Linked DNA regions of Homo sapiens: region 1 is linked to region 2. Evidence: promoter capture Hi-C in 16 types of primary human blood cells and fetal thymus (Javierre and others, 2016). All regions are on one chromosome and are shown on one strand. The core of a region is centred on a gene start or on the middle of the fragment in contact, and the rest is flanking DNA. Distances in the headings are between cores, read along the strand shown. Region 1 has its middle 6.7 kb from the start of H2AZ2-DT. Region 2 holds the start of TMED4 (transmembrane p24 trafficking protein 4).

What was found. The method cuts DNA at HindIII sites, captures the fragments that hold promoters and counts their contacts. A CHiCAGO score of 5 or more calls a contact.
Region 1: a contact is called between a fragment that was not itself captured here and the fragment with the promoter of TMED4 in region 2, in 13 of 17 cell types (naive B cells, M0 macrophages, naive CD8 T cells and 10 more). The highest score is 8.9, in naive B cells.

Annotation. Positions count from the first base shown.
Region 1 is chr7:44,851,941-44,858,353 of GRCh38, reverse strand. No RefSeq gene overlaps it. Among named protein-coding and RNA genes, the nearest start is that of H2AZ2-DT, 6.7 kb to the right of the region's middle. The HindIII fragment of the contact is 3,414 bases long and covers 3,251-6,413 here.
Region 2 is chr7:44,579,649-44,585,900 of GRCh38, reverse strand. TMED4 (transmembrane p24 trafficking protein 4) reads left to right here and starts at 3,670. Exons shown (of 5, transcript NM_182547.4): 1 at 3,670-3,854; 2 at 4,078-4,178; 3 at 4,327-4,452; 4 at 4,662-4,808. The coding sequence starts at 3,695. RefSeq lists an enhancer at 3,187-3,296 and silencers at 3,387-3,546, 3,947-4,046. The HindIII fragment of the contact is 9,471 bases long and covers 1,165-6,252 here.

The DNA of each region.
Region 1 (6,413 bases), core at 3,708-6,207, 270 kb before region 2:
TAATGCATGCACATTGTACAAATTCTAGTGACCCAAGTTTTTTTTAAAGAAACAATTTTCTTGTAAAAACATTTGTTGCCAATTTACTTTAAATTTACTTCAACATACCCAGTTGAAAATGGGGCAAAATAAATGAGAATATAAAATAAAGTAAAAGAGGCCATGAGATATTATTGTAGCTGAGTGATGCCAGGTTCACTGCACTATTTGTTTTACTTTCATATGAGCTTAAAGTTTTTGATAAGAGAAAGTTTAAAAACAAAACAAAACAAAATCATATGCTGTATCAGTCAACATTCATTCAGGTTCCAGAAAATACAATGTTTTTTTGTTTTGATACAGGGTCTCACTCTGTCGCTCAGGCTGGTCTCAAACTCCTGGGCTCAAGGGATCCTCCTACCACCAACTCCGCCTCCCTAAGTGCTGGAATTACACACATGAGCCACTGTGCCCAGCCCATCACTTATCTGAACAGAGACAATATAAGATATCATTAACTGGGTATAATATTGTTAACTACTAGGGCCAGGCGCGGTGGCTCACACCTGTAATCCCAGCACTTTGGGAAGCCAAGGCGGGTGGATCATGAGGTCAGCAGTTCGAGACCAGCCTGGCCAACATGGTGAAACCCCGTCTCTACCACAAATACAAAAATTAGCTGGGCGTGGTGGTGGGCGCCTGTAATCCCAGCCACTGGGGAGGCTGAGGCAGAAGAATCATTTGAACCCAGGAAGCAGAGGTTGCAGTCAGCCGAGATCTCGCCATTACACTCCAGCCTTGGTGACAGGGTGAGACTCTGTCTCAAAAAAAAAAAAAAAAAAAAAAAAAAATATATATATATATATATATATATATATATATAACTATATATACTATATATAACTACATATATGATCATATATCTATAGTTAACTACTAAAGGGTAAAAAGAGAACTCTAAGGTGTCATGGAGGTAGCAACTAGCAGCTACCTTGAAAAAATCAAAGGGAAAATCTTAGAAACCTAGAGAAAGGGACCTCTAGAGCTGCAACTCAAACCTCTGAGGAAGGAGCCGGCTGGTGCTGGTGAGGGGGTTAGAGACAATTAGGCTGGCTTTTCAAGAGTTGGAAAAACTGAGTCAGCTGCTGCTACCTAACGAACTGCTCCAGCCAGAGTGAAGTCCTGAATAAGTGACACTCAGAGAAACAGAAAGCGGACTGGAGGGCGCCTTCAGTCTTTCCATTTCCCTCTAGTTCCCCCTATTGGCAAAGCCTAGCAGGGAAGCAAAGGCAAAGCAGAAGTGTGTTTTGCAGAGTCCCAGGCATCACAGCTGAGTATAGAAGGGTGGGTGCATCCTGATTGACCTCATTTAGAACTGGCCAGGCTTGGGCCAGGCTCACTGGCTCACGCTTGTAATCCCAGCACTTTGGTAGGCTGAGGCGGGCGGATCACAAGGTCAGGAGATCGAGACCATCCTGGCTAACACGGTGAAACCCTGTCTCTACTAAAAATACAAAAAAAAAAAGTCGCCGGGTGTGGTGGCGGGCACCTGTAGTCCCAGCTACTCCGGAGGCTGAGGCAGGAGAATGGCGTGAACCCGGAAGGCGGAGCTTGCAGTGAACCGAGATGGCGCCACTGCACTCCCGCCTGGGTGACAGAACGAGACTCCGTCTCAAAAAAAAAAAAAAAAGAAAGAAAAATTGGGCAGGTTCTGGCTCATGTGAGTAGCTGCCTTGCCACTGCAATCTGCCCTAAACCTTTCCAGGAATTTTTACAAAATAATAGTAATAATAATAATACAGTCATGTGCCACATAGGGCATTTATTTGTGGCCCCATAGGATTACAATGAAATTGAAAAATTCCTATTGCCTAGTGACATCATAACCATCTTAGCCATTATAACCTCTTAGTGCCAGGCATTACCCACGTTTCTGGTGATGCTTGTGTAAACAAACCTACTGGCTGCCAGTTGTATAAAAGTATAGCACTTGCAATTATGTACAATATATAATTGCTAATGATAATAAAAAACTATGTTACTGATACTTTTTTTTTTTTTTGAGACAGAATCTTGCTCTGTGGCCCAGGATAGAGTGCAGTAGTGTTATCTCGGCTCACTGCAACCTCCACCTCCCAGGTCCAAGCGATTCTCCTGCCTCAGCCTCTTGAGTAGCTGGAATTATAGACGTGTGCCACCATGCCAGCTAATTTTTGTATTTTTAGAGAGACAGTGTTTCACCATGTTGGGCAGCTGGTCTCGAACTCCTGGCCTCAGGTGTCTGCCAGCCTCGGCCTCCCAAAGTGCTGGGATTGCAGGCATAAGCCACCGCGCCCAGTAGTTACTGGTACTTTTTATCAATATTTTATTTATTTTTATTTTTTATTTTTTGAGACAGAGTCTCGCTCTGTCGCCCAGGCTGGAGTGCAGTGGCTCGATCTCAGCTCACTGCAACCTCCGCCCCAGGTTCAAGCGATTCTCCTGTCTCAGCTCCCCCGAGTAGTTGGGACTACAGGTATCTGCCACCACGCCCGGCTAATTTTTGTATTTTTAGTAGAGACGGGGTTTCACTATGTTGGCCAAGCTGGTCTCAAGCTCCTGACCCCAAGTGATCCGCCCACCTCGGCATCCCAAAGTGCTGGGATTACAGGCGTGAGCCACCACGCCTGGCCCTTTATCATTATTTTAGAGTGTACTCCTTCTACTCATAAAAAAAGAACTGTAAAACAGTCTCAGGCAGGTCCTTCAGGAGGGATCCACAAGAAGGCATTGTTATCACAGGACATGACAGCTCCATATGTGTTAATGCCCTTGAAGACATTCCAGTGTGACAAGATGTGGAGCTGGAAGACAGTGATATTGATGATCCTCACCCTGTATAGACCAAGGCTAATATGTGTGTTTGTTTCTTCATTTTTAACATACAAGTTTTTAAAAGTGAAAAAACAATTTTTTTTAATTAAAAATAGACCAGGTGCCATGGCTCACGGGTCTGTAATCCCAGCACTCTGGGTGGCCAAGAGGGGAAGGATCACTTAAGTCCAGGAGTTGGAGACCAGCCTGGGCAACATGGTGAAACCCCGTCTCTACAAAAAATACAAAAATTTGCCGGGCCTGGTGATCTGTGCCCATAGTCCCAGCTACTCAGGAGCCTGAGGTGAGAGAATCACTTGAGCCCAGGAAGCGAAGATTGCAGTGAGCTGAGATTGCGCCATTGCACTGCAGCCTGGGTGGCAGAGTAAAATCCCTTCTCAATAAAAAGCAAAAAGCTTACAGAATATGGATATGAAGAAATAAAACATTTTGTGCAGTCATACAAGGTATTTGTGTTTTAAGCTAAGTGTTTTACAAAAACTCAAAAAAATTTTTTAATGTAAAGGTTTATAAAGTTAAAAAGTTATGGTAAGCTAAGGTTAACTTATTATTGAAGAAAAATATTTTTATAAATTTAGAGGAGCCTATGCACACTGTTCATAGTCTCCAGTACTATACAGTATAAAGTCCTAGGCCTTCACATTCATTCACCACCCACTCACTGAATCATTCAAAGCAACTTCCAGTCCTGCAAGCTCCATTTATGGTAAGTGCCCTATACAAGTGTACTATTTTGTATCTTTTTTGGGGTTTTTGTTTGTTGGTTTGTTTTTTGAGACAGAGTTTCGCTCTTGTTGCTCAGGCTGGAGTGCAATGGCACGATCTCGGCTCACTGCGACCTCTGCCTCCCAGGTTCAAGCGATTCTCCTGCCTCAGCCTCCCCAGTAGCTGGGATTACAGGCATGTGCCACCACACCCAGCTAATTTTTGTATTTTTAGTAAAGATGGGGTTTCACCATGTTGGCCAGGCTAATCACGAACTACTGACCTCAGGTGATCTGCCCACCTCAGCTTCCCAAAGTGTTGGGATTATAGGCATGAGCCACCCCAGCCCAGCCTTGTATCTTTTATACTGTATTTTTACTGTTCCTTTTCTATGTTTAGGTATACAAATACTTACCATTATGTTACAGTAGTATTCAGCACTAGTAACATGCTGTACAGATTTGTAGCCTAGGAACAACAGGCTATGCCATATAGCTAGGTGTCTAGTAGGCTATATATACCATCTAGGTTTGTGTAAGTACACTCTATAATGTGAGCATGATGATGAAATTTCCTAATGACACATTTCTCAGAAGGTATCCCCATCAGTAAGCAATGCATGACTGTACTTTAAAAAGGAGAATTTGGCTATCCTTTACAAAAGTAGCCAAAAGAGGCCGGGCGCGGTGGCTCACGCCTGTAATCCCAGCACTTTGGGAGGCCAAGGCGGGTGGATCACGAGGTCAGGATATCGAGACCATCCTGGCTAACACGGTGAAACCCCGTCTCTACTAAAAATACAAAAAAAAATTAGCTGGGCGTGGTAGCGGGGGCCTGTAGTCCCAGCTACTCGGGAGGCTGAGGCAGGAGAATGGCGTGAACCTCGGAGGCGGAGCTTGCAGTGAGCCGAGATCGCGCCACTGCACTCCAGCCTGGGCGACAGAGCGAGACTCCGTCTCAAAAAAAAAAAAAAAGGAATAGCCAAAAGAAAATTTCTGTCTCTTACAGTCTTTGTGATATTTTGAAGAGCACTGCAGCATTAAAATGGAATTTAAAAGTGAACACAGGGATAAAAAGCTCCTGCAATCTATGTATAGTAATCTTTAAGTCTGAAGTCTCTAAATGCTAACACACTTCACTGTATCAGCAACACCTCTGCAGAGGTGAAACTGATGACTAAGGGCAAGGATGGGAGGAGTTTGTGTGTCTGTGTGTATGAGTCTTGCTCTCACTCAGGCTGGAAGGCAGTGGCACAATCACAGCTCATTGCATCCTTAAATTCCTGGGCTCAAGTGATCCTTCTCCCTCAGCCTCCTGAGTAGCTGGGACTACATGTGCACGCCACCATGCCTGGCTTATTTTCTTAATTTTTTTATTTTTTGAGACGGAGTCTTGCTGTGTCGCCCAGGCTGGAGTGCAGTGGCGCAATCTCGGCTCACTGCAGGCTCCGCCTCCCGGGTTCATGCCATTCTCCTGCCTCAGCCTCCCGAGTAGCTGGGACTACAGGCGCCCGCCACTACGCCCGGCTAATATTTTGTATTTTTAGTAGAGACGGGGTTTCACCGCGTTAGCCAGGATGGTCTCGATCTCCTGACCTCGTGATCTGCCTGCTTCGGCCTCCCAAAGTGCTGGGATTACAGGCGTGAGCCACCGCGCCCGGCTTATTTTTTTTATTTTTCACAGAGATGTGGGTCTCACTATGTCACCCACACTGGTCTCGAACTCCTGGGCTCAAGCGATCCTCCTGCCTTAACCTCTAAAGTGCTGAGATTACAGGCATGAGCCACTGCACCAGGGGAGTCTTTTCACTGTATACCCTTTGTACATTTTGAAATTTTGTACGTGTGAATATCTTGCCTACTCAAAAATTGACTACATTTTTGCAGAGAAAAGTCATTGTCTTAGTTCAGGTTTCCCAGGAAACAAATGGGATTTGCTTTCAAGAGGTAATAGTATGGAATGCTCTTGGGGACATTACTAGGAGAAAATAGAGGAAGTAGGATTACGCAGAAGTTGAACTTCAATGCAGTTAGATCAAGTCAAAACTAATCACACAAGAAACTCTGGAGCTGGAATGGCCCTTCAGAATTGTCTCAAATTAAGGCAAAAGAGCTAGGCACTATATCCTACATCCACCAGTCACTGGAGGTAGGCCCCCTAAAAAGGAGTGTAAACTTGGGCGATACAGCTTCCTTTGGCCAAGTCCAATTCCTGGGTAGAGATCCCTGAGTAATGATCAGTCAACACTTCCAGGAGCTAAATAAGTGCTCCAGTTTTTTTGTTTTTGTTTTTTTGAGACAGAGTCTTGCTCTGTTGCCCAGGCTGGAGTGCAGTGGCGTCATCTCGGCTCATTGCAACTTCCACCTCCTGGGTTCAAGTGATTCTCCTGCCTCAGCCTCCCAGAGTAGCTGGGACTACAAGCGCATGCCACTACACCCAGCTAATTTTTGTTTTAGTAGAGATGGGGTTTCACCATGTTGGCCAAGCTGGTCTGGAACTCCTGACCTCAGGTGATCTGCCCACCTCAGCCTCCCAAAGTTCTGAGATTACAGGGATGAGCTACCACACCTGGCCAAGTGCTCCAGTTTTATAAGGAATACGTGGGCTCTGGACTGTGCACTGCAGCATATACTATACCAGTGGTTCTTAAATTTCAGTATGCACCAGAATCCCCTGGAGCGCTTGTAGGTCCCACCCTCAGTGTCAGATTCAGCAGGTCTGGGGTGGTGGTGAGAATACATTTCTAACAAGTTCCAAGTGATGCTGATGCTGGTGGTCTAAGGATCACACTTTGAGAACAATTATACTATATATTACTGGGTTAAATCCAGCAACATTGAATAATTTTTTTTTTA
Region 2 (6,252 bases), core at 2,421-4,920:
GCACATCAAATATCTAAACATCCATCAATTCATGATAGCACTGCCCCTTCTCCCCAAAGAACCCAAAGTGGTCACAGTTAGAGGTTGCTGGGGCATCCATCCATCCATCTTTATTATTATTACTATTATTTGAGACAAGGTCTCACTCAGTCACCCATGCTAGAGTGCTGTCGTCCCATCACGGCTCACTGTATCCTCAACCTCCTGGGCTCCAGCCATTTCCCTGCCTCAGCCTCCTAAGTAGCGGGAATTACAGGCATGCATCACCATGCCTGTCTAATTTTTACATATTTTGTAAAGATCTTGCCATTTCCTGGGCTCAAGCAGTCCTCCTGTCTTGGCCCCCCAAAGTGCTGGGATTATAGGCAGAGCCACTGTGCGTGGGAAAGCATCAAGCATACATCCTGGCTATCCCGAATGGATTGTATTTCAAAGTAACCAGAGAGATGAGGGAATGCTCACCTTTGTAGAAGAATCTCATCTTATAAATGCAGGAGAAATGAGAGCATTTGAAATTACCACTTTGCACACCTAAGGAACATCATAAAACTACACTAGGGTTTCTCAACCTGGGTACTACTGACATTTTGAGCTGGATAATTCTTCGCTGTGGGGGGGAGGTGTGCTCTGTGAATTATACAATGTTTAGCAGTATTCCTTGCATTCATTTTCTAGATAACAGCAGTACCACCCGCCACCCCCCACCCAGTTGCAACAATCCAAAATATCTCCAGACATTGCCAAATTTCCCCTTGGTAGGACAGGGCAGAATCAACCCTCGTTGAGAACCAATGGTCTAATGATCATCAACGTTTGCTAGACTATTAGAAGAAAGGCTGATGGTAAACTTCATGGATAATCAGGATGACAACCCCCAAATTGAGAGATGAATTACAATATTACTAAGAGACAAACCCGCCTTGTGCCTCAGTAGAAGTACATAGTGCCAGCCACGAAGCGTTATTGCAAACAAAACAAAACAAAAAAACCCAAACCTCAACATTACACCTAAACCTAATGAAGCTTCTAGCCAGGGGCAAATCCAAGCTTTGTGGGGCCTTAAACTATACAAATTTCACAGTCCTCTTTAAGAAAAAGACACAAAATTATAAATGCGAAATTAGGTACGGGGGTCTATGCAAGGGAGGGCCTGAAGATTAAGCTTCATTAGTTTCACTGTAAACCTCCCCTGACTCTAGAATTAACTGTGATTACAGGACATACCAGGGACAAAAAACGTTAAATGACACCTGAAGATACAATCAGCAAAACCCAGAAAGTGGAAAATTCTGTTGGTCAAATGACCCAGTTTCTTCAATAAGTAAATGCCATGAATAACAAACAACAAAAAGAGAGGGGAAATTTATATATATAATATATATATAATATGTATAATATATATATATGTTGTTATATGGTTTGTTTTTTTTTTTTTGGACACGAGTCTCTCTCTCACCCAGGCTGGAGTGCAGTGGCATGATCTCGGCTCACTGCAACCTCTGCCTCCTGGGTTCAAGCGATTCTTCTGCCTCAGTCTCCCAAGTAGCTGGGACTACAGGTGAGCACCACCACACCCAGCTAATTTTTGTATTTTTGGTAGAGGTAGGGTTTCACCATATTGGCCAGGCTGGTCTCGAACTCCTGACCTCGTGATCTGCCCACCTTGGCCTCCCAAAGTGCTGGGATTACAGGTGTGAGCCACTGCGCCCGGCCCTGTTTTTGTTTGTTTTGAGATAGAATCTCACTCTGTTGCCTAGGCTGGAGTACAGTGGCATCATCTCAGCCCACTGCAACCTCCACCTCCCTGATTCTAGCAATTCTCCTGCCTCAGCCTCCCAAGTAGCTGAGATTACAGGTGTGCACCACCACACCTGGCTAATTTTTGTATTTTTAGTAGAAACAGGGTTTCACCATGTTGGCCAGGCTGGTCTCAAACTCCTGACCTCAAGTGATCCTTCCACCTCAGCCTCCCAAAGTGCTGGGATTACAGGCATGAGCCACTGTGCCCAGCCAAAATTGTTATATATTAAGAGACATATATTTGTATGAAATGCAGTAAGTAAACCTTGTTTGGACCCTAAATATCTAATGTACAAAATTTTTTAAGGCAATGGGGAAAATTAAACACATACTAGGTATTAAGTGATGTTAAATAATTTTTAAAATTTTGGTGGGTGTGATAATAGTATAAAGTCCTTATCTGTTAGAGACACACACTGACGTATTTATAGGTGAAATGACATGATGTCCAGGATTTGCTTTAATATACAGCACTTCAAAAAAAAATGCAGAAAGGGATACATGAAATGAGAAAGGCAGCAAACTGTTGTTGAAGTTGGATGATGAGTACAGCCCTCCGTTATTATCCAAGGGGGATAATTCCTGGACCCCTACGGATACCAAAATCCAGGTATGCTCAAGTTCTTTATGAAAGTTCATTGTAATTATTCTATTATATAAAAGTTTCGAAATTCTGTTGATAAAATGTATTTTTAGTAGAGACGGGGGTTTCACCTTGTTGGCCCAACTGGTCTCGAATTTCTAACCTCAGATGATCCACCAGCCTTGGCCGCCCAAAGTGTTAGCATTACAGGCGTGAGCCACCGCGCCCGCCTGGCCTTGATAAAAACAGTTTTAACCTTCCGTTGCTTCGATTCCATGCCCACTAAGTAACATTCCAGTTTGTTTTTCACTTTCAAAAGGATGTGCTGTAACTAGGGGATGTAAACAAGCTCCATGACCCTACTTATTCCAAGTTTTCGTTCCACTCTCCCACCTTTTTTTTAAGACAAGGTATCACCCTCGGTCGCCCAGGCTGGAGCGCGATCACTGCTTAATGCATCCTCGACCTCCTGGGTTCAAGCGATTCTCCTGCCTCAGCCTCCCAAGTAGCTGGGACTACATGCGCACACCACCACACCGGTTAATTTTTTGTAGAGACGGGGGTTTCACCATGTTGCCCAGGCTGGTCCCGAACTCCTGGGCTCAAGGGATCCGCCCGCCTCAGCCTCCCAGAGTGCTGGGATTACAGGTGCCAGCCACCGCGCCCGGCCCCAGCTTCTTAAAAGAATGATCCGAAACTATGGCAGCACTGGGCTTTTGGTCCCCACCCAAGAAATGCCCGCTCGCAGAGGCTCGCCGCGGCAGGCTCTCCCGACGTGACAGAGTGTGGGTCTGGATTCAGCCTCGGTTCTTACGAGTCAGATAGGTGGACACGCAAAGCAAAACATCACAGGGCTTTTTGTATTTAGCACAGAAAACACTTGTGAGCCCGAGCTGAGAACCCAAAAGGCACGCTTCAGGCCATCGTAGCCACCAAGCCTGGTCAGATTCCGTCCACCGTCTCCTTGGTGCTCCGAGACCCAAATCGCTGACTGGGGCCGAGGGCGGGCGTGACTGCGCAGGCGTGCCTCCCCTGCGAGATGCCGGAGGTAAGCTGCGGGGTAAGGGGCGAGAAATTAAGGGCGAACGTCATTGCGCATGCGCCCTCTACTCTCGTTGCGGGGGTAGGCGGGCGCCGGGCTGTGTGAGGGGGCGGGGCGCGGCAGTGTTCGGTACGGATGGAGTTGCAGGAGACGGCGAGTACATATCACTGCGCAGGCGTCCTCTTCCCCTAACTCTCAGGGTCGCTAGGGTGGCGCGCAGGCGCAGAGCGATGCGCAAATGTGCGCAGGCGCTTAGGGGCTGAGGCGCGATGGCAGGTGTCGGGGCTGGGCCTCTGCGGGCGATGGGGCGGCAGGCCCTGCTGCTTCTCGCGCTGTGCGCCACAGGCGCCCAGGGGCTCTACTTCCACATCGGCGAGACCGAGAAGCGCTGTTTCATCGAGGAAATCCCCGACGAGACCATGGTCATCGGTCAGGCGGGCTGAGGGTGGGGAGGCCCTTTGTACCCAGCTCAGCCCTCGGCGGCGCTCCCTCCTCCCGAGCCCAGCCGGGTCGCTGGCTCCCCCAGTACCTAGCCTGAGGGTGCCCCGAGGACGCCAGGCCCCCTGCCTAGAGCTCCGGGCCGCACGTCGGAGGGGGCCGGGCGGAGAGGCGGCCCACTAGGGCCGGTCGTGACTATGTGTCTGCCCCGCAGGCAACTATCGTACCCAGATGTGGGATAAGCAGAAGGAGGTCTTCCTGCCCTCGACCCCTGGCCTGGGCATGCACGTGGAAGTGAAGGACCCCGACGGCAAGGTAAGGCTGGCGTTGGCCCACGCAGCCGTTCTTCAGTGGAGCTCCCGTGGGGTGTAAAGCACTGCCTGGAGGAGGCCTCAAGGGACAGGAACTTGCACTTGGAGAGCCTGCGGTATAAAGGTGGGGCCTTCACTCACATATGTTGCAGGTGGTGCTGTCCCGGCAGTACGGCTCGGAGGGCCGCTTCACGTTCACCTCCCACACGCCCGGTGACCATCAAATCTGTCTGCACTCCAATTCTACCAGGATGGCTCTCTTCGCTGGTGGCAAACTGGTAAGAGGATTTTCTCTTTGGCTTCAGCTTAGAATCTCTCACTTGTTTCCAAATTTTGATTTATCAAGATTGTGAAACTTTGTAGCACAGTCAGAATTGGGGAGACAGATGTTGCCTTCTGCTCCACAGCCAGGGACAATAGTGGGTTCCATACCCTGGAACAGACAACTGGAGGCCCCACCACTCATACATTCCATGTTTCCTTGTAGCGGGTGCATCTCGACATCCAGGTTGGGGAGCATGCCAACAACTACCCTGAGATTGCTGCAAAAGATAAGCTGACGGAGCTACAGCTCCGCGCCCGCCAGTTGCTTGATCAGGTGGAACAGATTCAGAAGGAGCAGGATTACCAAAGGGCAAGTGCATATCTCCTTGTAATTTGAGAGGGCAGTTGACCTTTATACCCACTATACCTACTCAAGTTTCTGCTTGGGAGATCAGCTCTGCAGAGAATGGAATGAGAAGTATTGGTTTAGATAGGTTGTTTGTTTGTTGTTTTTGAGACGGAGTTTCACTCTTGTTGCCCATGCTGGAGTGCAATGCCATGATCTTGGCTCACTGCAACCTCCGCCTCCCCAGGTTCAAGCGATTCTCCTGCCTCAGCCTCCTGAGTAGCTGGGATTACAGGCATGCGCCACCATGCCTGGCTAATTTTGTACTTTTAGTAGAGACGGGGGTTTCTCCACGTTGGTCAGGCTGGTCTCGAACTCCCGACATCAAGTGATCCGCCCGCCTCAGCCTCCCAAAGTGCTGGGATTACAGGTGTGAGCTACCGCGCCCTGCCTGTTTTGCTTTTTTATCAAAACATTTTATTGTGGTAAAATATAACACCAAATGTGTCATTTTAACTGTCTATATAGTTCAGTGGTATTAAGTGCCTTCATAATGTTGTGCTACCAACACCATCATCCAGCTCCAGAACTTTTTCATCTTCTCAAACTAAAAATCTGTACTTATTTTGTTTTGTTTTTGAGATGGAGTCTCGCTCTGTTGCCCAGGCTGGAGCGCAGTGGCGCCATCTCGGCTCACTGCACCCTCCGCCTCCCAGGTTCAAGCGATTCTCCTGCCTCAGCCTCCCAAGTAGCTGGGATTACAGGCAAGTGCCACCATGCGTGGCTCATTTTTGTGTTTTTAGTAGAGACTGGGTTTCACCATGTTGGCCAGGCTGGTCTTGAACTCCTGGCCTCAGGCAATCCACTGCCGCAGCCTCCCAAAGTGTTGGGATTACAGGCGTGAGCCACTGCACCCAGCAAATCTGTACTTATTATAAACAATAACTTCCCGTTTCCTTTTGTCCTGACACCCACCATTCTACTTTCTGTCTCTATGATCCTGACTACCCTATCTCATATAAGTGGAATCATTCAGTATTTGTCCTTTTGTGACTGGCTTATTTCACTGAGTATAATGTTCTCACAGTTCATCCATGTTATAGCATGTGTCAGAATTTCTTAAGGCTAATATTCCATTGTATGCATGTGCCACATTTCGCTTTCAGTAGTCATTTTTAAGCTCTATAAAATAAAATGAAGAAAGGACAGTTCACAATCTAGTAATAGCCATTGCCTACCTGTTTTTCTTGGACTCTTGTTGGAAATGGTAGGATCATGATTTCAGTCCTAACAGAGATGCTTGTGGAGGGACAGCCTGTCCCTTTCTTGGGGCAGCCTCAGTGGGGAGACCATAGCACTCCTAATGGAGTCACAGATAGTATTCCAAAAGGAGTTTGGTCCTGGAGTTGAGTAATTACACGCAGGGAGGGACCTCACAACAGCCAGACTGTTTCTCCTGCTCACTTAA